Linked DNA regions of Homo sapiens: region 2 is linked to region 1. The links are contacts of gene promoters, found by promoter capture Hi-C in blood cells and fetal thymus (Javierre and others, 2016). All regions are on one chromosome and are shown on one strand. The core of a region is centred on a gene start or on the middle of the fragment in contact, and the rest is flanking DNA. Distances in the headings are between cores, read along the strand shown. Region 1 holds the start of CACYBP (calcyclin binding protein). Region 2 holds the start of VAMP4 (vesicle associated membrane protein 4).

Region 1 (5,055 bases), core at 2,514-5,013:
TTTTCTTACAATAACTTTACACTCTGGCTTGACACTACCAACTTGACCAAAAAAATCTTGTGTCACAGCTTGATATCAAAAGCTCAATTTAAAAAAGTCTTTTAGTGCTTTATAACTCAGAATATCAGACGCACAACAGAGTTTGAAAGCCTGTTTCTTAATAGTCTTATAAAATGCAATAACAGAACTAATTCTTTTCTTTTACTACAAGTCTTTTGTTATCTCATTTAACTCAGATGCCCTAGTTTTGCCTATCTATAACAGATGACATGGTATAAAAAGTTCAACTCTGGCCAGGTGCAGTGGCTCACACCTGTAATCCCAGTACTTTGGGAGGCCAAAGCGGGTGGATCACTTGAGGTTAGGGGTTCGAGACCAACATGACCAACACGGCGAAAGCCCGTCTCTACTTAAAATTCAAAAATTTGCCGGGTGTGGTGGCACGTGCCTGTAATCCCAGCTACTCGGGAAGCTGAGGCAGAAGAATCGCTTGAACCCGGGAGGCAAAGGTTGCAGTGACCCGAGATCGCGCCATTGCACTCCAGCCCGGGCAACAAGAGCAAAACTCGGTCTCCCAAAAAAAAAAAAAAATCAACTCTGCCCAACCCTCTTGTCCACACTCTCGACCCTTCCAAGAACAGCTCATATTACTATGACAAAAAATCTTGCAAACTCATCTTTTGAGCATAGAACCAAAATGTTTCAGTTCAAAGTAATATTTTTATTGTAATGGTTTCAAAAAAACGCTGATTCTACAACTCCTAATTCATAATAAAAATATTGAAATGTAAAATGAAATATATTAAGTCTAAGCAAGAGGTTTTGCTTTTTGACTGAAATAGGAATACTTTATCTAGCAGAATGAGAAAGGTACTTCGAATTAGGCAAGGGATTCCCCCAATGGCTGAATTCCCAAGCCCTCTTTATTGCCAGTTTTGACTCTAAAGTACTCTTTTTATTATGAAGTATCCACTGAAAAAACTTAAAACTGAGACAGTTCCTCAGTTCTGTTATTGGCAGACTTGAAACCAACAAAGGTGATTCCTTTGATGCTTTTTCTGCACAAATACTTTAAGATGTCCTAGTTTCCTATCTAATTTATCATGTAATTTTCCTTGCCTTCTTGGCATGTGTTTGTTTTACGTATATAAAAATTTTATTTCTCTTTTATCCCTACCCATAAGGCATTCAAGCTTTATCTTCCTATTTCCTAATTTTTCACTAGGAGGCATTAACACCAATGTGCCTCAAAAATGGGCAAAGGAATTCAACACACATTTCTCCAAAGACACAGAAATGGACACCAAGAACATTAAAGATGCTCAACATCTTCATCATTGGGTAAACGCATATCAAATTCCCAAGATGCCACTTCACACCCAGTAGGATGGTATCATAAACCGAAAAAGAAAAATAAAACACCCCAGAAAATAACAAATGTTGATAATGATGTGGAGAAACTTTCAGAAGCTTCAAACATTTCTTACAGGAATATGATGCAACCACTCTGGAAACAGTCTAACAGTTTCTCAGAAAGTTACCATATGAACCAGTAATTCCACTCCTAGGTATATACCCCAGAGAACTGAAAACACATCCACACAAAAAACTTGGATACAGTACTCGCAGCAGCATTATTTATGCTAGTCACGAAGTGGAAATAAGGCCAGGCGCCATGGCTCACACCTGTAATCCCAGCACTTTCAGAGGCCGAGGCGGGCGGGCGGATCACTTGAGATCAGGAGTTCGAGACCAGCCTGGCCAACGTGGTGAAACCCCGTCGCTACTAAAAATACAAAAATTAGCCGGGCATGGTGGCGCGCGCCTGTAATCCCAGCTTCTCAGGAGGCTAAGGCAGGAGAATCCTTTGAACCCGGGAGACGGAGATTGCAGTGAGCCGAGATTGCGCCATTGCACTCCAGCCTGGGCGACAGAGCGAGACTCCGTCTCAAACAAAGAAGTGGAAATAAATGTCCATAAACGGATGAAAGGATAAACACAATGTGCCACATGCATATAATAGAATATTATTTAGCCATAAAGAGCATGTGTACTGATACACGCTACACCATGGATGAACTTGAAAATGTTAGTGCTAAGTTGAAGGAGCCAAAAAACAAAAGGCCACATACAGCGTGACTCCATTTATATGAAATGCCTACAATAGGCAAATTCACAGAAAGTACAAGATGAGTAGTTGTCAGGGGCTGAGGGAGGAATGGGAAGCAATTGTTTAAAACACACTACATGGTTTCTTTCTGGAGTGATGAAAATGTCCTGAAACTAGACAGTGGTGATGGCTGCACTACACTGTGAATATATTTAAACAAAAAACAAATACCTGAATTGTACACTTTAAAATGGTTAAAAACTTGAATTTTATCTCAAACAAAACAAAAATCAAGTGCCCTCAAATGTATATTTCTAAGTGCCTAAACTGAGAACGATCTCTACTTTCAAGAGGACTAACACTGAGCTATCCACCTGCAAGACTGTGAAGTTATCTCCTAGGGGCACATAGTACCCAAGACCTACCTTAAAAGACTTGTCACAAGATACCCAGATTAATACTGGAACACACAAACCTCATAGTTTTTCTTCATTTAAAGAAAAGATTTTGAGTTTAAAAAACAAAAACAAAACAAAACAAAAGCTTGGGACTCCCCAGTACTTGTTTTCATAAAGCAAATCTAGTTAATACACACCCAACACTTAACTGTGAATAACTGTCCCGTCTTCACCTCCCACTTACGCCAGGAAATGAGCAATACAAGTACTATCATTCCCATTTTCTAACTGAGCAAACTAAGTCTCCACAAAATTTAATTCTCCAACGTTCAGAGTTTACAGAGCTTTAACACAGGCCATTCGCTTTCTTACTATTAATTACAACTAACTTTCCAAGTTATTTATTTTAAAAATCACATACAGCAGATTGCTGTTTGCCAATCACTGACTTAAACACCTAGAAATCATATTTTTTAACAACCCTATGAAATGGATGCTACTGCGACACAGAGAAGCTAAACAACTTGCCCAGAGTAACACAGCTCCTCGTGTGTAGAGAAAACCTGACTAGGAGAATTCAAGTGCTAGCACTGAGAACTCACCTTCCAACCGCCCTCTACCAAGAACGACACTCATGTTTGCACCCAGCTTTGCTTGAATGAAGCTTCCTGTCCACTGGCTGGGAAACCAGGGCAGAAAGGGCCTGAGGAACACGCGCAAAGGGCCGCTCTCCCAGACCCACTCCCCGCACCGCCTGCACGGATAATCGCCGCACACCCCCGCTCGAGCCCAGCAGGCGAGTGGGGTGCGAGGTCGAGTGGAAGCGCTGGGGAGCCGACGGCGCAGCAAGGGGCGAGTGAGGTGTCCCCCGGGAAGGCGGCGCACTGACTGGCGCGGGACCGGGTGGCCGCAGGGCGGCTCAGCCCACGGAAACGGCGGTAGGGCGGGAGGCTGGCGCTGCAGCTCCAGCCGGGGGGCATAAGGAATATGGGGCCGGACCACTTACCTCTTCTGAAGCCATGGGGGCTGGGTCAGGCCGAAGTCCCGAGCTGCAGCCGCGCAGAAGGAGGAACAGGAAACCCCGCGCCGAGCCCTCAAACCGAGCGCAGACGCCTACCCGCACGAGTCGCGGCGCTGCAGCCTGCGCCCACACCGACCCTGCGCAAGATCGCGGCCCGCCTCCCGCACGCGACGGATCTCGAACCTTCGCGAGGCAGCCGCCGCCACCGCCCACCGCGAGCACGCACAGCCCGCCAAGCCTGGCTCCACCCACCCTTCCTCGCCTCGCCGAGCCTAGCCCCACCCCTCCCCGCCCCGCCGAGTCTGGCTCCGCCCGCCTGCCGAATCTCCTAGCAACGCTCAAGTCTCGCGAGCGAACCGGCAATCCGAGAAGAGTAATGTCTTGCTCTCCGCCCTGACAACTTTTATGTATTATAATTTGACCGCGCTGGGCCACGCTGCGCAGTCGCAGCTCGGAACCGCTGCGTTAACCCAGCCCCGGAAATAACGTACCGATCTTCGGAGTCCAAGTCGGAAGTTGACTAGAGAGTCACCTGCTTTCGTCCGCTCTAGGACACCAGACACACCAGGCCGCCATGTTGTGTAAGGTTAGTCTCTCAGCCTCCGCGAGAAGAAGGCGAAAAATGGGGAGGAGCAGCCTGGTTACTTTCAAACGAGAAAGAACGGATATGTTAAGCGTGGAGGGCTCCTAATGGTAGCGGTTTGATTTTCAGTGAGTTTGGCGCGGTGGAGACGTCACCGCGGTCTAACAGTTCCGACGTGGTGGCGTCATCACTGGCCGCCGTAGGAGGTGGAGCTACGTTGGCCTCGTGACCGGGCCCTGTAGCGGAAGCCCAGGTCAAGGCCCTAACAAAAGGGCCCGCCTATGGCCACAGTTTCAGGCCCTCCTTTCAGTCATGGACTGTTGAAGCACGATTTCCTGGTGCTTTCGCCCCTTTCACCGACCATTTCAAGAGTCCGTAGTTCTCGCCTGGGTTTGGATTCGGTATAAGTGAGCCTGTTTACCATCAAAGAAAATGGTGAAATGTCTTCTGGAGACGATGTTCTCTTCTGGTTCTAACCCTGTCACTCAGTGAGACCCCCAGAGAAGCCTAGTTTTCAGATTATTCTAGTCCTTGGCAGGCTCAAGATGTCAACAACACGGTTGGAAACAACCCCTGAGAGGTCACATAGCGCGCACTCAGCTTTACAGATCGTCCAAGGCAGCGACCCCTGAGAGGTCACATAGCGCGCACTCAGCTTTATAGATCGTCCAAGGCAGCAATTAGAATCAGCAACTCGGAGAGGAAAAAAAGCTGTTAGCGGAATGGAGGCTGACCATTATCTGTAGTAAAGAATCGGAAGTACAGTACAAAAATAAATTACCGAAACGCAACATGCGTGAATTTCACACAAAAAAATGAAGTTGAGGGAAAGAAGCCAGACATGGAAGAGTTCATATTGCGTGGTTCCATTTAAAAACTAGCCCATGGTGTTAATGAGCATAGTGGGGAGGACAATGACATGAAAGAGCCACCAGGGGGCTTT
Region 2 (5,695 bases), core at 2,266-4,765, 3.3 Mb after region 1:
ATCAAAAAGAACTTCATATAAAATTTTGATACATATAATTACCATGAAATTTTTAAAAATGCACCAATTTTTATACTCTTACTGTTTAAGAATGCTTGTTCCTCCCACGCTGCTCCCATACCACACATACACACACCCAATATTGTAGTATCAAATTTTTTTTATTTTTGCTATTGAGCTAACACAAAAGATCAAACTGTCAAATCAGGCTCAAATCAGAGATTTTACTCAGTATCAAGCTTTACTAATAGTTTCAAGGATACCAGTAATCCCCAGGTCCTTTCTTCTTGCTTTGGATGCATCCTGGCCCAGGACAGTAGATGTGGTTTCTAAATCAAGTGTACAGTCACCCCACTTACACAGAAGGAGCCAAATCAGTTACAAAACACTTCCATTTTATGCTACGTTACATAACTTCCGCGGTATTTTCCAGTTAATCATACCCCTGAAATCCGCATTGATTCTTTTTTGTTTTGTGAGAGGGAGTCTCATTCTGTTGACCAGGATGGAGGGCGGTGGCGCGATCTCTGCTCACTGCAACCTCCGCATCTCCAGTGCAAGCTATTCTTCTGCCTCAGCCTCCTGAGTAGCTGGTGTTACAAGTGTACACCACCACACTCAGCTAATTTTTGTAGTTTTGGTAGAGACGGGGTTTTGCCATGTTGGCCAGGCTGGTAACTCCTGACCTCAAGTGATCCACCTGCCTCAGCCTCCCAAAGTGCTGGAATTACCACATCGATTCTTAATGTGTTTACCATAAACAATCCCAGCCCTGGGACATCCTGTTAGAGGAATTCCGTAAATATGGACTCTCTTGCTAGCAAATGCCATTAGTTTGTTTGCCAGGAGGTCTGTAATTAGTATATACTTTATATTTTATAAAAATCACATGCTTTTTTGCTTGCTTTAACCTTGCTTTCCTGAGAGTATTTCCCTACGAAGGGAGAGACTGGATTGCAGATCTTCTGCTCAACTCCTTCTTTCTCAGTCACTGATAGATGAAAAATGGTATTTCCTTGTTCACTTTTACATTTTAAGTAATGTTGAACATTTAGCAACAAAATATTGAAAGCTAGAAGGGAGATGAATCAAGATGCAATTGCCTTAGCAGACTTGAAAAGTAGGAATCCCAAGCAGGCCATGAAGCAACCTGATACACACAGTGAAACCCTGTATAAGGCTCAGGAATTGGAAACACCACGTAAAGCTGAAGAGAGCATGATGTGAGCTATAAATACAGGCGGAATGGTATAAAGTCTGTTTAAGAATGAATCAGATGCTGAGATTCCCTTTGCTATCCCATCAAAAACCCAGAGATTTAGTCCTGAAAGACAGCAAAACGCTGATTCTCTAGCTAGGAGGACAGCAGGCCCTCTTAAGGATGAAGGTGTCATGTTGAAAAAGGGGAAAAGAAAATTAGAGGACTAACATCTGAATAACTGAAGCTCACTAAAAAGAAAATGGAGGAAATAAGTAACTCAAGTTGCTTGGAGTTCTGACTCTAAGCTCAGTGCTATTATAATCTTTTAGGCTTACTGGTATATTTGATTCATGTTAACTGTAAAATGACATTTTCTAAGTTTCACAAATATTGGGGTTAGTCAAAGGGACTTTGTTCAGGTGATTAAGGGTGGGGCTTGCATTACCCCTCTCCTAAGCGATCATTCCAAAATGACTGGCAGGACTAAAGAATTATGTTTAAAAAACAAAAAAACCCAAAGAATGGATTATCTGTAAAAGCTATGCAATGACGTGCCTGTTAGAGCTCACTGACCACACCTTAAGTTGTCTAAGAGATGAGGCTATAACTAGCTAAACTCTAATTGGCTAAGGCACCAAAGCCAGAAAATAGCCCATAACATGCAAATATACAGACATAAAATCAACTGTAAGTGCTGGGCACAGCTGCTCATGCCTGTAATCCCAGCTACTTGGGAGGCAGAGGCAGGAAGATCACTTTAGCTCAGGAGTTCAGAGCTGCTGTGCGCTATGATTGTGTCACTGCACTCCAGCCTGGGGGAAGAAGTGAGACTTCATCTCAAAAAAAAAAAAAAGATCAGCTGTAGAAGAAAAAATAATGTCAGGGTTACCTGTGGAGTCTGGGGGTAGACCCACTATCACACCTAGACAGGGATACAAACCATGAGAGGCTTCTCTTCTAAGTGGGCCGTTTCAGTCCAAGTTGCTGACTTGGACAGCAACTTGGACTGAATAAACACAGGCAACTGAGTTTAGCATTAAGCTTTCAGAACCTTCAACTGACAACTCAACGGCTGTTTCTAAATCTCAGAACATTTAAATCAGAATCTAGGTAGCACGTGGGCACCTACGTAGTTTTAAAAGCTTTCCAAGTGATTCAACTCCAAGTGAATCAGAGTGGAGCATCGTTGCCTTAGTCATGGCATCTTTCAAATTCGTTAGTACATTTTTACATAAAAATAAACATCAAACAAAAGAAGAACAACTTTTTGGTAAGAGGGTGTCTATTCTTTCCTTTCCTTTAGTGTCCGCAGATCTTTCCTCCTGCTGTTTTCTTGTCTACTCTTGTTCTTGAACACCCCCTCTTATTTTTATGTCTTTAGAAAGTGCCTGGCACAGTATTTCAGACAGTTAAAATACTGTATCAACAAAGGACCCATAGATACTGTATTAATTTTAAAAGATGTGTAGTGAATATGATTCAATGAGTAAAATAATCCAGCTGGGGCGTGGGAGGAACGGATAATAAAACAAATAAGAGAACGGAAAAACAAAATTAGGAATTGTTTCTGGTAGACAGCTACTGCGGGCGTGGAGATCTAAACATGATACCAAATTGGGCGGAGGGGGAGGGAGTGAGGAAGGAATGGGCAGAGTGGCGGAATGGCCTGGCGAGGGCGATTTCCTGAAGGCTTTCAGGTTACAACTAAGGGATACCGGGAAAAGAACACCGAGCCCTCGTCCCGTATCTATCTAAACTAGCCGTGTTAACTTTAAGTCAATCTCCTCTCTGAACCAGATATTCCTCCTATCTAAAGGGAGGAGCCTGGCCTTAACATCTCTTTCCAAGTCTAGCTCTAATTCTGTAAACAGGGGATCAAACAGATCTCCTTTCTTCAGAAAAGGCCCCAGACGAACCCGAAGCAGGTCCTCGAGCTGCGAGCCACTCTCCACTTGCCACTCAACGTAGTCAGCCAGAGGGACGGATGTGCCACCAAGCACCACCTTCTTTCTAACGCCTCATCACCCCAGCCACGCACTCCGGCGCGGCGCCCAGTCCCGAGCGGTTCTCGGAAGTTTCCCACTCCTCCCCTAATCGCCCTCCACGCACGCCGGATCACGACCGGAACGTGGACAACCAGTGGTTGTTCCTCCCCTAAAGCACAGCATAAATTTGGAGAGATGCATCTAAACTGCGTGTGGGTTCGGGCTCTTTTAGGTGAATAGGGCTCGGCGGATCGACTTCCTCGATTATCTCCGTGCCCTGGACCCGCCCCCTCCGCCTGGCGCCAGGCCGCCGAGCGCCGATCGGCTCGATGAGCGGAGGCGCTGCTGCGGCGCTGCGGCCGACGCCGGGTCCGCACCAACTGTCTCCCCCTCCCAGCTTCTTACCTCGGCTTCCTACTCCTTCCCCCGCCCGCCCAGCACCGCCAGCCCGGGAGAGCTGCCGGGAGTTCCCCGGGAGCCTCAGGTACTGGCGCTGGCCTGTTCGCAGCGGGAGGGGCTGGTGTGAGGAGGAAGGAAACGAAGAAGACGCCCCTGCCTTGCCGCCCCCCGACGTCCTAGTCGGGCTGGTCGGCGGGCCTCGGGGATCTAGGAAGGGACCCCGGAGTGGGAAAAGGTTGGGGCCGGGGGTGCCGTGAGGAAGGAAGACGAGGACAGGGGTATGCGGACGAGGAGCAGTTGAGGGAGAGAAGAATTGGAATTGAGGGGTACTCTGGGGTGATGGGAAGAGAACAGTACCATGGATGGGGAAGGTTTGTTAAGAGTGGGATGTAGTGAGGAATTCCAGGGGGTACAATGGGGCAGGAAGGGCCAGCGTTAGGAGCAGATATATCGTGGGACGTGGCCTGGTGTGACAGATTGGGTGTGGGGGGTGAACGGAGCTGCCTGAAATTGTGTATTTAAAGGGCCCGGGGGAAAGAGCGCCAACCCTGCTGTGTTTATAATGACCGGAAGGTGGGGGTGAATCGTTACACTTGACAGGTTTTGCAAATAATATCTCCGGTCTGTGTCCATCCAAGTCACTTTATTTCTGTGAAACTGCATCAAGCAAGAAGGCTGATGACAGACAAGGAAGACGAATCAGAAAGAGAATGGAGGCTGGGAAAAGGAGAGCCTTTGCCCAGATTCAAAGCTATTGACTAGATAACGTACTACTTACAAAAACGCACACATAGACATTTAAGTATATGCTGATGTATAAGAAGCATACGGTGATGTGACTCATTTGAGTGAATTGTATAGTGGTGGTCTATCCTCAATGTGGAAGTACATGATGGCTCTCTTATTTACATGTATACCTAGTCACAAACAGCTGAATTCACATGTCTTTTTTTGTAGGAGAAATCTTAGGCAGACTATATCCTAGTCTACTTTCTGAGCATGATTTATTTCTACTAGTTGTTTGATACACATATCAGTTACTAATAATCAGTTGCAAATAACATCAAAGTTCATCAAGGTAGCTAATTAATCTGCCTACTGCTTTGCTGATGGGCTATTTGTTGCACATGGTTTCTTGGGATTAAGAGACCTGAATATGGTGTTTGCTCATCCTTAAGATTGTAGTTTTACTGTATGTCTTATAAAGGCATTATATAAGTCTGCCCGTTGTTTGCTTTGGGATGTTGAGGCAGCCTCATTGCAGGGGTTAAAATCTAAATACAGATAATAGTTAAAAGCACAAGTTCTTCAGTAATTTGCCTTGTCATCTGTTTTTCCATGCATTCTGTTACATTTCTGCATGAATGAAGTATTCTGACATCAAAGTATGAGGAATAAAAGGGCCAGATGTATGTGACAGAAATATTGTGGAACCAAGAACTCAAGAGCTGTTACTCAGGCAGCAAGAATTTGGTTTTTGTTACAAGTGAATAATTTCTGATTTGGAAGCATTTCTTATCAAAGAAAAGTGTGTCCTTTGGTTTTGACAAGCAGCTGACTTAAAACATTACTTTTATTTGGTTCGTGAAGCCAGATCCTGGGATTATTCTTTTTTAAGTGTATATCATTAACAAACAAACTGATGTCTAACTATACCTAATTTAAAGGTCTAAGTGTTTCTTCTTATGGAAAAGGAAGCAGGACTATTGGGTTGTTAGCAGGAAGTGAGTCTTTCTAGAACAGAATTCTGTAAACCTGATGGGCAACTAATTGAACAAATGATTAAAACTGATAATGCACAGCCATTGATTAATTTAGGCCTGTATCTCTGCTGTTTCAATGAATGTAGTGACTAACGTTATCGTTACTAAACTTTAGTTTTCTCCTAGTTTCTTGGTGCCTACTTTAAAGAAGCATCATAAAGAGTAAAAGAAAATGCATGTGTATCACTGAGCACCGTGCCTAGCACATAGTAAAACATTCAGTATTTCTGAGCTATCCTGAATTGATGGGTATTCATCTACCATCTAGTCAAAAATACTGAAAATTCATTATTTGCATAGAAGAACTTTTTCGCAAAAAAAAATTTTAGTATGTTGCATACACAAGC

Evidence for each region. Contacts are between HindIII fragments. The CHiCAGO score rates a contact against its expected background, and 5 or more counts as called.
Region 2: a contact is called between the fragment with the promoter of VAMP4 here and the fragment with the promoter of CACYBP in region 1, in 2 of 17 cell types (activated CD4 T cells and total B cells). The highest score is 5.1, in activated CD4 T cells.

The regions. Positions count from the first base shown.
Region 1 is chr1:174,998,655-175,003,709 of GRCh38, reverse strand. CACYBP (calcyclin binding protein) reads right to left here and starts at 3,763. Exons shown (of 6, transcript NM_014412.3): 1 at 3,515-3,763. The coding sequence starts at 3,529. It overlaps LOC105371622 (a long non-coding RNA gene), which reads left to right and starts at 4,064. Exons shown (of 2, transcript NR_188647.1): 1 at 4,064-4,115. RefSeq lists a silencer at 3,743-3,862 and enhancers at 3,893-4,402, 3,954-4,490, 4,433-4,642. The HindIII fragment of the contact is 3,791 bases long and covers 3,175-5,055 here.
Region 2 is chr1:171,739,885-171,745,579 of GRCh38, reverse strand. It overlaps VAMP4 (vesicle associated membrane protein 4), which reads left to right and starts at 3,515. Exons shown (of 8, transcript NM_003762.5): 1 at 3,515-3,670. The HindIII fragment of the contact is 4,907 bases long and covers 2,346-5,695 here.